2 separate regions of the Homo sapiens genome follow, and region 1 is linked to region 2. Evidence: promoter capture Hi-C in 16 types of primary human blood cells and fetal thymus (Javierre and others, 2016). All regions are on one chromosome and are shown on one strand. Each heading gives the region's core, a stretch centred on a gene start or on the middle of the fragment in contact. The rest is flanking DNA. Distances are from core to core; before and after follow the strand shown. Region 1 holds the start of RPL6 (ribosomal protein L6). Region 2 overlaps TRAFD1 (TRAF-type zinc finger domain containing 1).

Region 1 (7,208 bases), core at 2,231-4,730, 280 kb before region 2:
CCCAATCCCCAGCAGTGTTAATGGTTTGGTGTATGTCTTTCCACACTTTATACATATACAAACACACAAACTCATCCCATACACAGGCTCACACACATACATAACACATATAAAGATATTTTTCTATTTATTTATTTATTTATTTATTTATTTATTTATTTGAGACAGAGTCTCACTGTGTGGCCCAGGCTGGAGTGCAGTGGCACAATCTCGGCTCACTGCAACCTCTGCCTCCCGGGTTCAAGTGATTCTCGTGCCTCAGCCTCCCAAGTAGCTGGAATTACAGGCATGCACCACCATGCCTGGCTAATTTTTGTATTTTTAGCAGAGATGGGGTTTCACCATGTTGGCCAGGCTTTAAAAGATTTACTGCCTAACAAACAAACAAAAAATACAGCTGAGGCAACATTGTGAGACCCTGTCTCTACAAAAAATGTAAAAAAATTAGCCAGGTATGGTGGTGTGCACTGTACTCCCAGCTACTCAGGGGGCTGAGGTGGGAGGATTGCTTGAACCCAGGAGGTCAAGGCTGCAGTGAGCCATGATCTCACCTTGCATTCCAGCCTGGGCGACAGAGCGAGACTCTGTCTCCAAAAAAAAAAAAAAATTAGGCTGGGCGAGGTGGCTCACGCCTGTAATCCCAGCACTTTGGGAGGCCGAGGTGAGCAGATCACCTGAGGTCAGGAGTTCAAAACCAGCCTGGCCAACATGGTGAAATCCTGTCTCCAATAAAAACACAAAAAATTGGCCGGGCAAGGTGGCTCAGGCCTGTAATCCCAGCACTTTGGGAGGTCGAGGCGGGCAGATCACGAGGTCAGGAGATCGAGACCATCCTGGCTAACACAGTGAAACCCCACCTCTACTAAAAATACAAAAAATTAGTCAGGCATGGTGGCGGGCGCCTGTAGTCCCAGCTACTCGGGAGGCTGAGGCAGGAGAATGGCGTGAACCCGGGAGGCGAAGGTTGCAGTGAGCCGAGATCATGCCACCGCGCTCCAGCCTGGGCAAAAGAGCAAGACTCTGTTTCAAAAAAAAAAATTAGCCAGGTGTGGTAGCGGGCACCTGTAATCCCAGCTACTCAAGAGGCTGAGGCAGGAGAATGGCTTGAACCCAGGAGGCAGAGGTTGCAGTGAGCCAAGATCACGGCACTGCACTCCAGCCTGGGCGACAGAGCAAGACTCCATCTCAGAAAAAAAAAAAAAAGATTAAGTGTCTGCAAAAATGTCTGCTTTGTGATTAAAGTGCTGCACAAATTTCAGAGAATTTTATATATGGCAAAACTAAACTTAATAAAAACATTTACTTTATAACTAACATGGTATTTTGCCCAACTAATGAATTGTAAATTTTGCAATACCGCAACAAAACACAAGAGGGGGTTCATCTACGTTTTTATTTTAATGACAGGTCATTCAACACATATTTTGGGGCGTTCACTAGGTGAAATTATCTGAGATTGCCAGCAATTTTGAGGGGCCCACGTAAGCAACTGTGCATCTCATTCATTCATTGTGGTACATTTTCTGCAGTTGAAGTTTCTAAGAGGTGCTTTGCTGAGGAAGCTAAACAAATAAAGCTGCTGACATTCCCATTCTCAAAAAAAAGGGCAGTGTTCATCTGATCATTGTATTTGTATCCTCAGTGAATCAGAACCAGAAAAAGGCTAAATGATTCCCAGAGACACAGCCATGAAGCAGGTGGTTTCGATCTGAAAAAATCAAGGTGAAAAGCTCTAGCAACCAGAAAGAAACGAATGGAGGAAAATGGAAAACGCAAGCTAGAAGGTATTACAAATGTGTACATGTTGGCTTAAGGGCTTTGAAGCAGTAAAGAACTATCACATATACTGTGTTGTGTATTTTGTAAAAGATAATAAATATTCTTATTTTTAATTCTAACATGAGCAAAACTCTCATGCATCTTCATTAATCATCTCTTTAATCTTGCAGCCTAATGGTTAAGAGTGCAATCTTTGGAATCAGATCTATGCTGTGAGCAAGTTACTTAATGTCCTTGAGACTCAGTTTCCTCATAATAGTATCATTCACAGGTTGTTGGGAGAATTAAATGAAATAAAGCAAGGCACATTGTATGCAATATTGCCTATTATCTCCCATGCATAAACTTTAGCAGAATACTTGACAACAACTAGGATGTTGATGATCAGATGATTGTAGTGGTGATGGTGACAATAACAAGAGCTAACAGTTCGCCAGGTGCGGTGGCTCACGCCTGTAATCCTAGCACTTTGGGAGGCTGAGGCGGGTGGATTACTTGAGGTCAGGAGTTCAAAACCAGCTTGGCCATCATGGTGAAACTCTGTCTCTACTAAAAATACAAAAAATTAGCTGGGCATGGTGGTGTGCGCCTGTAATCCCTGCTACTTGGGAGGCTGAGGCAGGAGAATCACTTGAACCCAGGAGGCAGAGGTTGCCGTGAGCCAAGATCGTGCCACCACACTCCAGCCTGGGTGACAGAGCGAGACTCCATCTCAAAAAAAAAAAAAAAAAAAAAAAAAAAAAAAAAAAAAGAGCTAACACTTATGTAGCATTTACCATCCATCAAATAATCAAATATGCTTCTCAGTACTGTTGTATATATTATTTAATGTTCCCAACATCCTTATGAAGTAAGTTACTATTGTTATCCTCACTTTAATTTTTTTTTACTTTTTTTAAGACAGAGTCTCATTCTGTAGGCCAGGCCGGAGGACGGGAATGAGAAAGGCCATGTACAAGAGGAAGTAGTCAGCCGCTAAATCCAAGGTAAGGGAAGAGGGGACCACTGACCTAATCTCAAGTGACAAGATTAGAGTTCACTGCACTGCAGCCCAGACCTCCAAGACTCAAGTGATCCTCCCGCCTTAGCCTCCCGAATAGCTGGGACTACAGGCACTAACAACCACACTCGGCTAATTTTTTTTCTTTTTTTCTTTTTTTTGTTGTTGTTATTGTTTTGAGACTGAGTCTGGCTCTATTTCCCAGGCTGGAGTGCGGTGGCACGCAGTGGCACGATCTTTGGAGTGCTGGGATTACAGGCGTGAGCCACCGTGTCCGGCCCTTTTTTTTTTTTTTTTCTTTTTTGAGAATCTTGCTCTGTTGCCTAGAGCGCAGTGTCGCGATCTTGGCTCACTGCAATCTCCACCTCCAGATTCAAGTGATTCTCCTGCCTCCGCGCCTCGACTGGCTGTCATTACAGACACGCACCACCCACGCCCGGCTACCTTTTGTATTTTTAGTAGAGACGGGATTTCACCATGTTGGCCAGGCTGGTCTCGAACTGCCAACCTCAGAGGATCCTCCTGCCTCGGCCTCCCAAAGGGCTGGGATTACAGGCGTGAGCCACCGCACCCGGCCTAGGATTTACTACTTTTTTCTTAACGGGGAAATACTACATTCCCCATGATGCCCCAGATCCGGAAGGAAGTGAGACTCGCACTTCCCATGATTGCTTATAGACCGGAAGCCGGGACCTTAATTCTCTTTCCCATCTTGCAAGGTAAGAATCGCGGGCCTGTCTGCAAGACTTGAGTTCAGGACTCCCAATCCTTCGCCATCCGAACCTGGAGGGCATCCAGTCGACACCTACAGGGGTCGGACATGTCCAAGGCTAACTGAGAGGCCTTCCAGACGCTTCATTTTTGTTGTTTGGGTTTGCGGCAGGGCACAAAGAGGGTGAGGTAGAATGCCGTAGTGGCTCCCTCCGGTTCTTCGCCACTCTCTTGGGCTGGGGGAACGAGGCCCTTTCGGGGACCCGTAGCAGACTGGTGGGTGTTAGAGGAAGCGGGGAGACGGCGCGTGCACTGTGTTCCTGGTCCTGGGTTCCAGAGGATGACACTGAGCCTGTCGCAGCCACGTTGGGGTTCCGCACTGAAGCCAAAAGGTTTCGCGTCTCCCAGCGTCCCCGACCGGAAGTCGCCTCTTGGTCTTTGCGATCTTTTTCTCTGGCTCAATTTGGGCTGATTCCGTTTGTGTCCGCAATTCCTAAATCGAGTTTCTTGAAAAGAGACACTGGTCTTAAGGGTTAAGACGAAAGGTACTGAAAGTAAGGGATTTCAAGTTCTGGTCTTGGTGCTTCTAACCTGTGGACACATTCTGCATCTAAGTTTTCTAATTCGCAAAACAGTAATAAAAAATAATGGTTGTACGGACTTCTGACCGCTCAGTATTTGGCAAAAAACCTAATAGGTGTGAGGTAGTTTCAAATTCTCAAAAAAAAAGTTTATAGTGTATTGGGGAGACAAACCCCAAATGAGTCATAGTGAAGGTTGGAGTAGAATGGGTAGAGTTTGAGAGGAAGGCCTGTATCTTACCGGGGGAGGGATTGTAGTCTGGGGAGCCCAGCCCATTCATGTACAGGTTCATTATTGTCTTGTTAGAGAGATGACTGGTGAAATGCCTTTTTTTATCTACAAAAAAATATTTTTAGATGGCGGGTGAAAAAGTTGAGAAGCCAGATACTAAAGAGAAGAAACCCGAAGCCAAGAAGGTTGATGCTGGTGGCAAGGTGAAAAAGGGTAACCTCAAAGCTAAAAAGCCCAAGAAGGGGAAGCCCCATTGCAGCCGCAACCCTGTCCTTGTCAGAGGAATTGGCAGGTATTCCCGATCTGCCATGTATTCCAGAAAGGCCATGTACAAGAGGAAGTACTCAGCCGCTAAATCCAAGGTAAGGGAAGAGGACCACGGACCATTATGTCTTAACCTTAATTGGCATTCTCTTACTGTTGATGCATTTGTGTCCTTGTAGGTTGAAAAGAAAAAGAAGGAGAAGGTTCTCGCAACTGTTACAAAACCAGTTGGTGGTGACAAGAACGGCGGTACCCGGGTGGTTAAACTTCGCAAAATGGTAAGATGTGGGGACTGTAAATTGGATTTTCTGTTTATGCTTGAATACTGTGAAGATGTTTTTGAATACTTAGATACTGTAAGTTTCTGCATACCGGAGAATTTCTGATAGAAAATAAAGGGCTCTGGGTTTGTAACTTGGCTTCAACATTTACTGTTAATCTTAAGTAATTTAAATTACTCGTCTGTGCTTTGTTCCTTTGCATATAATATGGGAATGAGGCTGAGTGTGGTGGCTAATGCCTGTAATCCCAGCACTTTGGGAGGCTGAGGCGAGCAGATCACCTGAGGTCAGGAGTTCAAGACCAGCCTGGCCAACATGGTGAAACCACATCTCTAGTAAAAATATACAAATTAGCTGGTTGCGTGCCTGTAGTCCCAGCTGCTCTGGAGGCTGAGGCAGAAGAATCGCTTGAACCCGGGAGGCAGAGATTGCACTACTGCACTCCAGCCTGGGCGACAGAGGGAGGCTTCATCTCAAAAAAAGATAAGATGGGAATGAGGGTTTACCTCAAAGAGTTTTTATGGAGATTAAATGAAATAATACATAGCCTGTTCTATAGAACATTTCCCACTAGAGCAGTGTTTCTTGGCCCCCTTTACCACACACAAGACCCAATGTAATCTCAGGATTTGCTCTGTAATTTTCATTATGGGAACATTCCCAAATAAGTTAACACCATACAGTTTCACAGTTGAAGATTACTGCATGAGAGGGAAGATGACAGTTGTTTTGTGAACTCGTTTTCCCATTAGGTGATCATGTTTGTGGTGAAAGTGAGACTGCACTAATGATATGGTATAGTTGGAAATAGGTTATTGTGAGTTATTTGTAGTCATGTCTTTAATGGCCCTTGCATGGTGTCTAACTTCTGCAATAAATGATCTGCCAGTCCTAGTGTCTGGCTTTATGCAATTTGTTTTCCTTTGTGGATGAAGTGGGAGTAAGACTTGTTGCTGTGAGGATCAGATGAAGTGGCTAGGATATGGACACACTTTACTTGAATTGGAAAACAAGCCATGTATCCCTAATCTGCAAAATGTGGCATGTCACACGTGTAATCTCTGAGGTTTAGTTTTTGCTCAAGATTGCAAAGGTGACTTGCTTGATGCTTTCTTTGCTTGAGCACACATCTCATTCATTAAATGGTGTCTCCTTTTTTGCACACAGGATGCAGAAGCATAATTGACCTTTTCCAAGTCTACTTAGCAGAAATGAAAATGGAATCATATAAATACAGTATTATACTTTAAAATAAAAAGGCTGTAGCAAAAGTTTGGCTGACATAGCTTGCTTCTAGTAATCTGAATGGCTTATTTAAATAAGTTGGATCTATGGACTCTCCACAGCCTAGATATTATCCTACTGAAGATGTGCCTCGAAAGCTGTTGAGCCACGGCAAAAAACCCTTCAGTCAGCACGTGAGAAAACTGCGAGCCAGCATTACCCCCGGGACCATTCTGATCATCCTCACTGGACGCCACAGGGGCAAGGTGAGAGTACCTGTGCTTGGGGCGCTTCACTGCAGCTGCCTGGGGTGCCTGGTGGCAATGCGTTTGCACGCTAGGTGTACTTTTCCTTTATTTACCTATGTTTGGGGCAAGGGGAAATGATCTGCAAGATACAACTTAGTTGTTGCAAATAAGAAGTGTAATCCATGGTGATTTATTAGCCATTTCCTGCTGTTGATTATGTTACACATGTTCATTTACTCAAAAACGTGTTTATGTCTGGAGTACTACCTTAGTAGCTTGCTGTGGTTGCTTCCAGAACTGCCGAGCTGTATACATATACATGTAGAAATTTCCTTTACCCAAATTTAGATGCCTGTGATTTTATGAATTCAGAAGTCAGTTTTTAATTGCAGAAAACTAATTATTTTCTTTTTAACTTACAGAGGGTGGTTTTCCTGAAGCAGCTGGCTAGTGGCTTATTACTTGTGACTGGTAAGAAAATCCTTGGATTGTGATGTTCTGTGAAACTTCCATTTTTAAATGCTTGCAGTATACACGTTTGTTTGCTACTGCCTACATGGTAGACACTTATTGCCACAAGTGTCTGAGGCCCATTTCATTGCCTTGTGTGCAAGTGGGTTAGACAAGTGGTCTTCTTTGTGTAGCAACATAACAAGTAATGGTCACCTAAATTGCAGGATGATGATTCTTCCCCCTTTTCCTTGCTAAATTAATTTTTCCCCCTTAGGACCTCTGGTCCTCAATCGAGTTCCTCTACGAAGAACACACCAGAAATTTGTCATTGCCACTTCAACCAAAATCGATATCAGCAATGTAAAAATCCCAAAACATCTTACTGATGCTTACTTCAAGAAGAAGAAGCTGCGGAAGCCCAGACACCAGGAAGGT
Region 2 (7,006 bases), core at 3,095-5,594:
AGAACAAGACTCCGTCTCAAAAAACAAACAAACAAAAAAGAATTTTAAATGAAATGACAGCTTGTAAGGCAGGCTGTGTGCTAAAGAGGTTATCCCATACTGGCAACTCTAGGGCTGGCTTCATATTCAGTGAGGCTGCCAATAACCAAACCCCAACAGAAATAATAGACTCAGTTCCAAAGGGAGATACTTCGCGAGTCTCAACATACACAAGTGAGTTCCAACAGCCAGGTAGCCGAATCTGGCAGCAGTTACATAGTCAAGGCCTCAAACAGGCTTTGAGAAACAGTATGCATGTGAGCTCACGGAGAACTAACACTCAACCAGACTGGCTTCCTGCTCTGCATGTGGGTCTGTAATCTCAGCAGGACTGGGCCCACGGTAACTCACTCCATGGACTAACCTCATGCTTCTTTAACAGCCTCTTCTCCAACTTCTTGTTACATTTGCAGGTCACCTAGAGTAAGAAGTGAGAATCAGTAAATTGGCTTTGGGACAATATGCTCATTTGCTATTGCACAATAGCAAACAGAATACATTTACGAACAACAGCAAGTATAACACATGTATAAACATTTGAGTACTTGGTGGCTCACCTGACAGTGTTCTGCAGCCATGTGAGTCTCCATGTCAGATTTGGGAAATGGTTCCTTACAGGTAGGACACATACCAATGTTCCTTTGACAGTGGATCTCATGGATGGTAAAGTTAAACACAGGAATTTCTTTTTTGCTACGGAAATAGACCAAAGAAAAAGGCAAGCATTACTGACTAATCTATGCCTTTTCTTGCACAGTGGCATCACATGGAAATCTGTCCTGTCCAATCTTTAGTCTCCATTATTTATCTTTAGTGAATACCTAGCCTACAAACTCATGACTATTACCATTCCTGCTTTTCAAGAACTAAATCCTGGCCAGGCGCGGTGGCTCATGCCTGTAATCTCAGCACTTTGGGAAGCCGAGGCAGGCGGATCACCTGAGGTCAGGCGTTCGAGACCAACCTGGCCAACATGGTGAAACCCCATCTCTACTAAAAATATAAAAATTAGCCAGGCGTGATGGCGGGCACCTGTAATCCCAGCTACTCGGGAGGCTGAGGCAGGAGAATCGCTTGAACCCAGGAGGCAGAGGTTGCTATAAAAAAAAAAAAAAAAAACTGGCCGGGCGCCGTGGCTCACGCCTGTAATCCCAGCACTTTGAGAGGCTGAGGCGGGCAGATCACCTGAGGTCAGGAGTTCGAGATCAGCCTGGCCAACATGGTGAAACCCCGTCTCTACTAAAAATACAAAATTAGCCAGGTGTGGCGGCACATGCCTGTAATCTCAGCTACTCAGGAGGCTGAGGCAGGAGAATCGCTTGAACCCGGGAGGCGGAAGATGCAGTGAGCCTAGATCGTGCCATTGCACTCCAGCCTGGGCAACAAGAGCAAAACTCTGTCTCAAAAAAAAAAAAAAAAAAAAAAAAAATTAAATCCTTTCCAGGTGCAGTAACGCCAGCACATTGGGAGGCTGAGGCAAGCAGATCACTTGAAGTTAGGAGTTCAAGACCAGCCTAGCCAACATGGTGAAACCCCGCTTCTACCAAAAATATAAAAAATTAACCAGGTGTGGTGGCGGGTACCTGTAATCCCAATTACTCGGGAGGCTGAGGCAGGAGAATCACTTGAACCCGGGAGGCAGAGGTTGCAGAAAGCTGAGATCATGCCACTGCACTCCAGCCTCGGGGATAGCAAGATTCCGTATCAAAAAAAAAAAAAAAAAGAACTAAATCCTGAAGGCTCTTCTGTGCAACATTCTGAGTTACCGGTGCTATGCACTACTACATCTAAAAGCTCAGCCTTACTTTCTCAAAGTCAGAGCTGATCACAACATGAAGTCAGATGCCAAAAAGAGTGGAGCTAGGCTATTCCAAAACCATCCATGTCCCAAAGCAGAGTGATACGCTCCAGGATTATTTTAAAACAGAAAACAAACCAAAACAACAACAAAAACAAGTGAAAAAACACCCTACCACTGATTTTCTCTCACTTTTAAGTAGTTTAATTTCATTGGATTTTATTCCATGAAAAGTCAAACCAAAAAGAGAAGACTCCAGCTTTTGGACAGTCAAAGGGGAAGGGGAAATTGTCTCCTGTATGCCTCACATGCCTTTCGAAGCAGGCTGGATGCTTCCTGACTACAGGAACATGCTCTCTGGCTGGGTTGGTAGAAACTTCACTGTAAAGCTGTACAAAAATGAAATCCTGAACCCTTTCCTCCACCAGTCTGGTCTCTCCACTTCATTTTTGCCTTTCTCACTTAGTTTAGTGGTTCAAAGATCATATCTAAGCTATACAAATTAAGGAGGTAAAGTGATAATGTTACATGAAAGAGTAAGACCATTTAAACATGAAAAGATTATACATGTACTCGAACTAAAGGTACATTCTATTCAAAGGCCTTACTTTTACTTATTTGGATAGGACCATTGTAAAATTCCAATTTCACCAGCTAAAAACTACATTAAAGAAGGTACGTATAACAATAATTCAGAAAAATAAAATACTGAACAGGATCAATACAGATAGTCATAAAACACATTATTTAATACCATATTTTGCCTCTGAAGCTGAATACTAGAAGAACTGTCTCCCATACTAAATTATAAATAGCTTATTTCTCTTTTAATAACCTTTAATATTCAGACATTGTCTAAGAAACATTTTGAAGTAGGATAAATGATGTGCCTCCAGCTATAGTCATTCTTCCAAACTGAAAGACCAAGACACCAAGGAAGTGCAAATTCATTTTCATCCAGTGGTGGAATTATCAAGCTAGGGACCCCAAGGCAGCTCTCAAAGCAGCACTGGAAGGTGACAGAACAATCAACTGTGAGAGATGGGAAGAAAACTCAAATGGATAAAGAGGAAAATTACTGACAGATTTAACTTCCCATATTTCTCTCAAATTTTTAGCTTTCTAAGGAAACTACTCATTTTGAATTAATTTAGTTAAAATAATACATCCCAACTTTTTAAAGATGTTGTGAAATGAATACTTTAATACATTACTGGTGGTAGTATAAACTGCCTAAAAACAGTCTGAAAATTCATTTCTAGGACCATAAAATTATATACTCTGTAACACAATAATCCTACTCTTGGGATTATGTATGAATATTTTCATTACAGTATCATAGAATGGTAAAAAATGAAAGTCATTAAAAATACCTAAGCAAGAAAGGAATAGCTAAGTTACATATAGTATACCAACAAAGTGAAAGAAGAAATGTTATATTGTGATTGTAAATCATGTATGTACAAATGCCATGAAAATTAAAGCCAGTAATTACTGCTTAGGGTGTAGAAAACCTGGGTTCCTTTTTCATAATATTGGCAATAATTTTTATTTTAATGGTAAATATGGAGACACTAAATGTCTAGCATTTACTTTACAAGGCTGTTCAGGATAACTTGTTGACATACTACATACACAAGGCCCCTAAAACTTTAGAATTAAAACAAAAAATATTAAGGACCACACCATCATAATATGAAGCAACAAGAATCAAAAGCAGCTGTCAAGTAAGACCACAAAGCATTTACTATTGCACATATTCACCTCTTAGGAAATGCTGAAATAAAAAAGATATTTGCAACAATTATATAAAACAGTTGCCTGCTGGGTTTTTTTCTTTTAAAATTTAACTGCCAACATATTCCTACCAAACATTCCAACCAGACCAAATACTAATATGCTTACTTCCTACCTTCGGAGAAAATGAAGATGTTTTAAGTGAGATAAATGAGCACACAATTCCGTATCCAGATAAAACTGCTAAAAGTCTCAAGGAAGGGCTAGCAAATTAGAGGTGAAATTTCATTTAGATAGAAATAGCTGAAAGGCAAACCAAAGCTTCCAGAAAAATTCCCAAGAACTTTCCAAACACTAAACACAAACAGCCAGAAATTAATTCTTTACAGGTTTAGTCAGCCTTCTATGCTAATCTGCTTTTTTCTTTAATTTCTTTGGCTTTGAATAGCATTGTTTTTCACTAGCTTTCCATTAACTCACCCTTTAACTCTCTTAGCATAGTTATTTATATTTTGTCCTAGGCTTGAGATTCCTCCTAATTGGAGTGGACTGATAAAATAGGTGTATCTTAACTAATGCTAAAAACCAATGTGTCTCTTTTCTTACAAAATCATGTTTTCTTTTGATTATTTGTTTCTGATTACTCTGTTTCAGTAGCTATACATATAAAACCCAAACAAAACTAAAATAGTTTATGAAATGGTAGAAAGTGATAGTGGCATAGCAGAAATACTCTACAATATGGCAAGACACCTACAATGAGATGAAATCTTAATTCCAAGCAGGTAAAGAATATTGTAACCAGCTGTTGCTCTAATTATATTCTAATTCTGCCAAAGTTAGGCTGAGAAGAAAGAAAAAGACAACGATGATGACAAAAATGTTATTTGGCTCAAATATTCCACCAATGAGTTAAACTATTTTCCTTATTCCACATCTCTTTCTACCACAGTTTGCTAAGGTAAACATAGCACATTGTGAAAGAAGTACCCAGTGAAGGAAAATAAAGTAATAAACATAGCAGACAGTTCTGCTTTGCTTTTTTTGTCAGCTTACAGTAACAGCACTTGTATAGCACCAAGATACCAAGATAAGTTCTTAGGAAAACCCCAACAGGAACCAGCTGATTATTAACTTTACAACCGGTTTCATTTCATCAGGAAAGAGATGCTCTTTCTTGTAATTCATGTGGGTTATAAACACCAAAATAGAAAGCTTAACTCAAGACTGTGCCAGTCTTCACTAACAGTTTTTAAATCAGGAAATGATAGTGATTAAGCTTGACTGTCCTCATTCCACTAACATTTCTTAGATTTAATGTCTTACCAGTTGTCACACAGTCGAGTTTCCTGGTCATCTAGAAATTCAGCCATCTTTAGCTCTTCCTGAAAACCACAAAGGAAGACATGAACTTTCTCTTTCATTTCTGCTTTAAAGATGACATGCAAAAAAACAAATAAAAAACTAGTATACAGAAACTGTCACCCAAACCTGCATGTTAAAGCATTTTATTCAATATCCAGTCCCTTGGGATTTTCTTATTTTAAAATTTTCAATTTAAAATAATTTTATTGGATAAGGGAGTTTTAAAAAATAAAAATAATAAAATAAAATACTTTTACTAGGCTGGGTACAGTGGCTCATGCCTGTAATCTCAGTACTTTGGGAGGCCGAGGCAGGCGGATCACTTGAGCCCAGGAGTTTAAGACCAACCTGGCCACAACATGGGGTAACGTCATGTCTACAAAAAATACAAAAAAAAAAAATTACCCAGGCATGGTGATGTGTGCCTGTAGTCCCAGCTACTCGAGAGGCCGAGGCAGGAGGAATGTGCAAGAGGAATGCTTAAGCCTAGGAGTTTAAGGCTGCAGAGAGCCATGATCATGCCACTGCACTCCAGCCTGGGTGACAGAGTGAGACCCTGTCTCAAAAATAATAATAATAATAACATCCTGGCCAGGCGCAGTGGCTCACACCTGTAATCCCAGGACTTAGGGAGGCCGAGGCAGGCAGATCACAAGGTCAGGAGATCGAGACCATCCTAGCCAACATGGTGAAACCCCCATCTCTACTAAAAATACAAAAATTAGCTGGGTGTGGTGGCGCATGCCTGTAATCCCAGCTACTCGCGAGGCTGAGGCAGGAGAATCGCTTCAACCAGGGAGTCAGAAGTTGCAGTGAGCCAAGATCGTGCCACTGCACTCCACCCTAGCGACAGAGTAAGACTCCGTCTCAAAAATAAATAAATAAATAAAAATAAAATAACATCCCTTACAGACTTCATCCAATTACCCTAAAAGCATCATAACAATAGTAAAATTATCAAATAGAGGAAATTAACACTAATACAATACTAGTAACTAATCTATAGAATTCATTCAAATTTCACCAACAAGTCAGGCACAGGGGCTCATGCCTGTACTCCCAGAACTTTGGGAGGCTGAGCTGAAGAGGATCGCTTGAACCCAGGAGTTTAAGATCAGCCTGGGCAACATGGTGAAACCCTTCTCTACAAACAATTTAAAAATTAGCCAGACGTGGTGGCACACACCTGTGGTCCCAACTACTCAGAAGGCTGAGATGGGAAGATCACTTAAGCCCAGGAGGTCAAAGCTGCAGTGAGCAGTGATTGTACCACTGCACCCTAGCCTGGGTGACAGAGTGAGATCCTGTCTCAAAAAAAAAAAAAAAAAAAAAAAAAATCACCATCCCACCCTTTTTCTGGTTCAGCATTCAATCTAGGATCACACACTGCATTTGGCTATTACTTGTAGTTAATCTCCTTTGATTTGGGAGAGTTCTTCAGTCTTTCCTTCTCTTTCATGACCTTGTTAAGCATACTGGCTTTTTTTTTTTTTTTTTTTTTAAACAGAGTCTCACTCTGCTGTCTAGGCTGGAGTGCAGTGGTGCGATCTCGGCTCACTGCGATCTCGGCTCACTGCAACCTCGACCTCAGCCTCCTGAGTAGCTGGGACCACAGGTGTGCACCACCATGCCCAGCTAATTTTTGTATTTTCAGTAGAGATGGAGTTTCACCATGTTGACCAGGCTGGTCTCAAACTCCTGACCTCATATGATCCACCAGCCAGCCTCAGCCTCCCAAAGTGCTGGGATTACAGGCATGAGTCACCGTGCCCAGCCAGCTAGTTATTTTATATAATATCCTTCAATTTGGGTTTGTCTGATATTTTCTCATGATTAAATTCAGGTTATATATTTTTGGCAAGAACACCATAGAAATCATGTTGTGCTCATCTCAGTGCCTTATATCAGAAGGTACATGATGTCAACAGTCTTATTTTACTATTGATGTAAACCATGATCACATAGTTGATATGGTGTCTGCCAAATTTCTTCACTATAAAGTTTCTCCTGCTTTTTAAACAAGATGTCAATGCAGAAAGCAAAGCACTGGCAACTTTACTACCATTG

What was found. The method cuts DNA at HindIII sites, captures the fragments that hold promoters and counts their contacts. A CHiCAGO score of 5 or more calls a contact.
Region 1: a contact is called between the fragment with the promoter of RPL6 here and a fragment that was not itself captured in region 2, in 3 of 17 cell types (erythroblasts, fetal thymus and naive CD4 T cells). The highest score is 9.0, in erythroblasts.

What each region holds. Positions count from the first base shown.
Region 1 is chr12:112,405,877-112,413,084 of GRCh38, reverse strand. RPL6 (ribosomal protein L6) reads left to right here and starts at 3,480. Exons shown (of 7, transcript NM_000970.6): 1 at 3,480-3,498; 2 at 4,429-4,665; 3 at 4,747-4,845; 4 at 6,195-6,338; 5 at 6,743-6,791; 6 at 7,048-7,208. The coding sequence starts at 4,429. RefSeq lists an enhancer at 3,670-3,849. The HindIII fragment of the contact is 30,731 bases long and covers 1-7,208 here.
Region 2 is chr12:112,128,464-112,135,469 of GRCh38, reverse strand. It overlaps TRAFD1 (TRAF-type zinc finger domain containing 1), which reads right to left. Exons shown (of 12, transcript NM_006700.3): 2 at 4,901-4,959; 3 at 597-732; 4 at 404-457. The coding sequence starts at 4,947. Among named protein-coding and RNA genes, the nearest start is that of TRAFD1, 6.4 kb to the right of the region's middle. RefSeq lists an enhancer at 4,707-4,756. The HindIII fragment of the contact is 894 bases long and covers 3,898-4,791 here.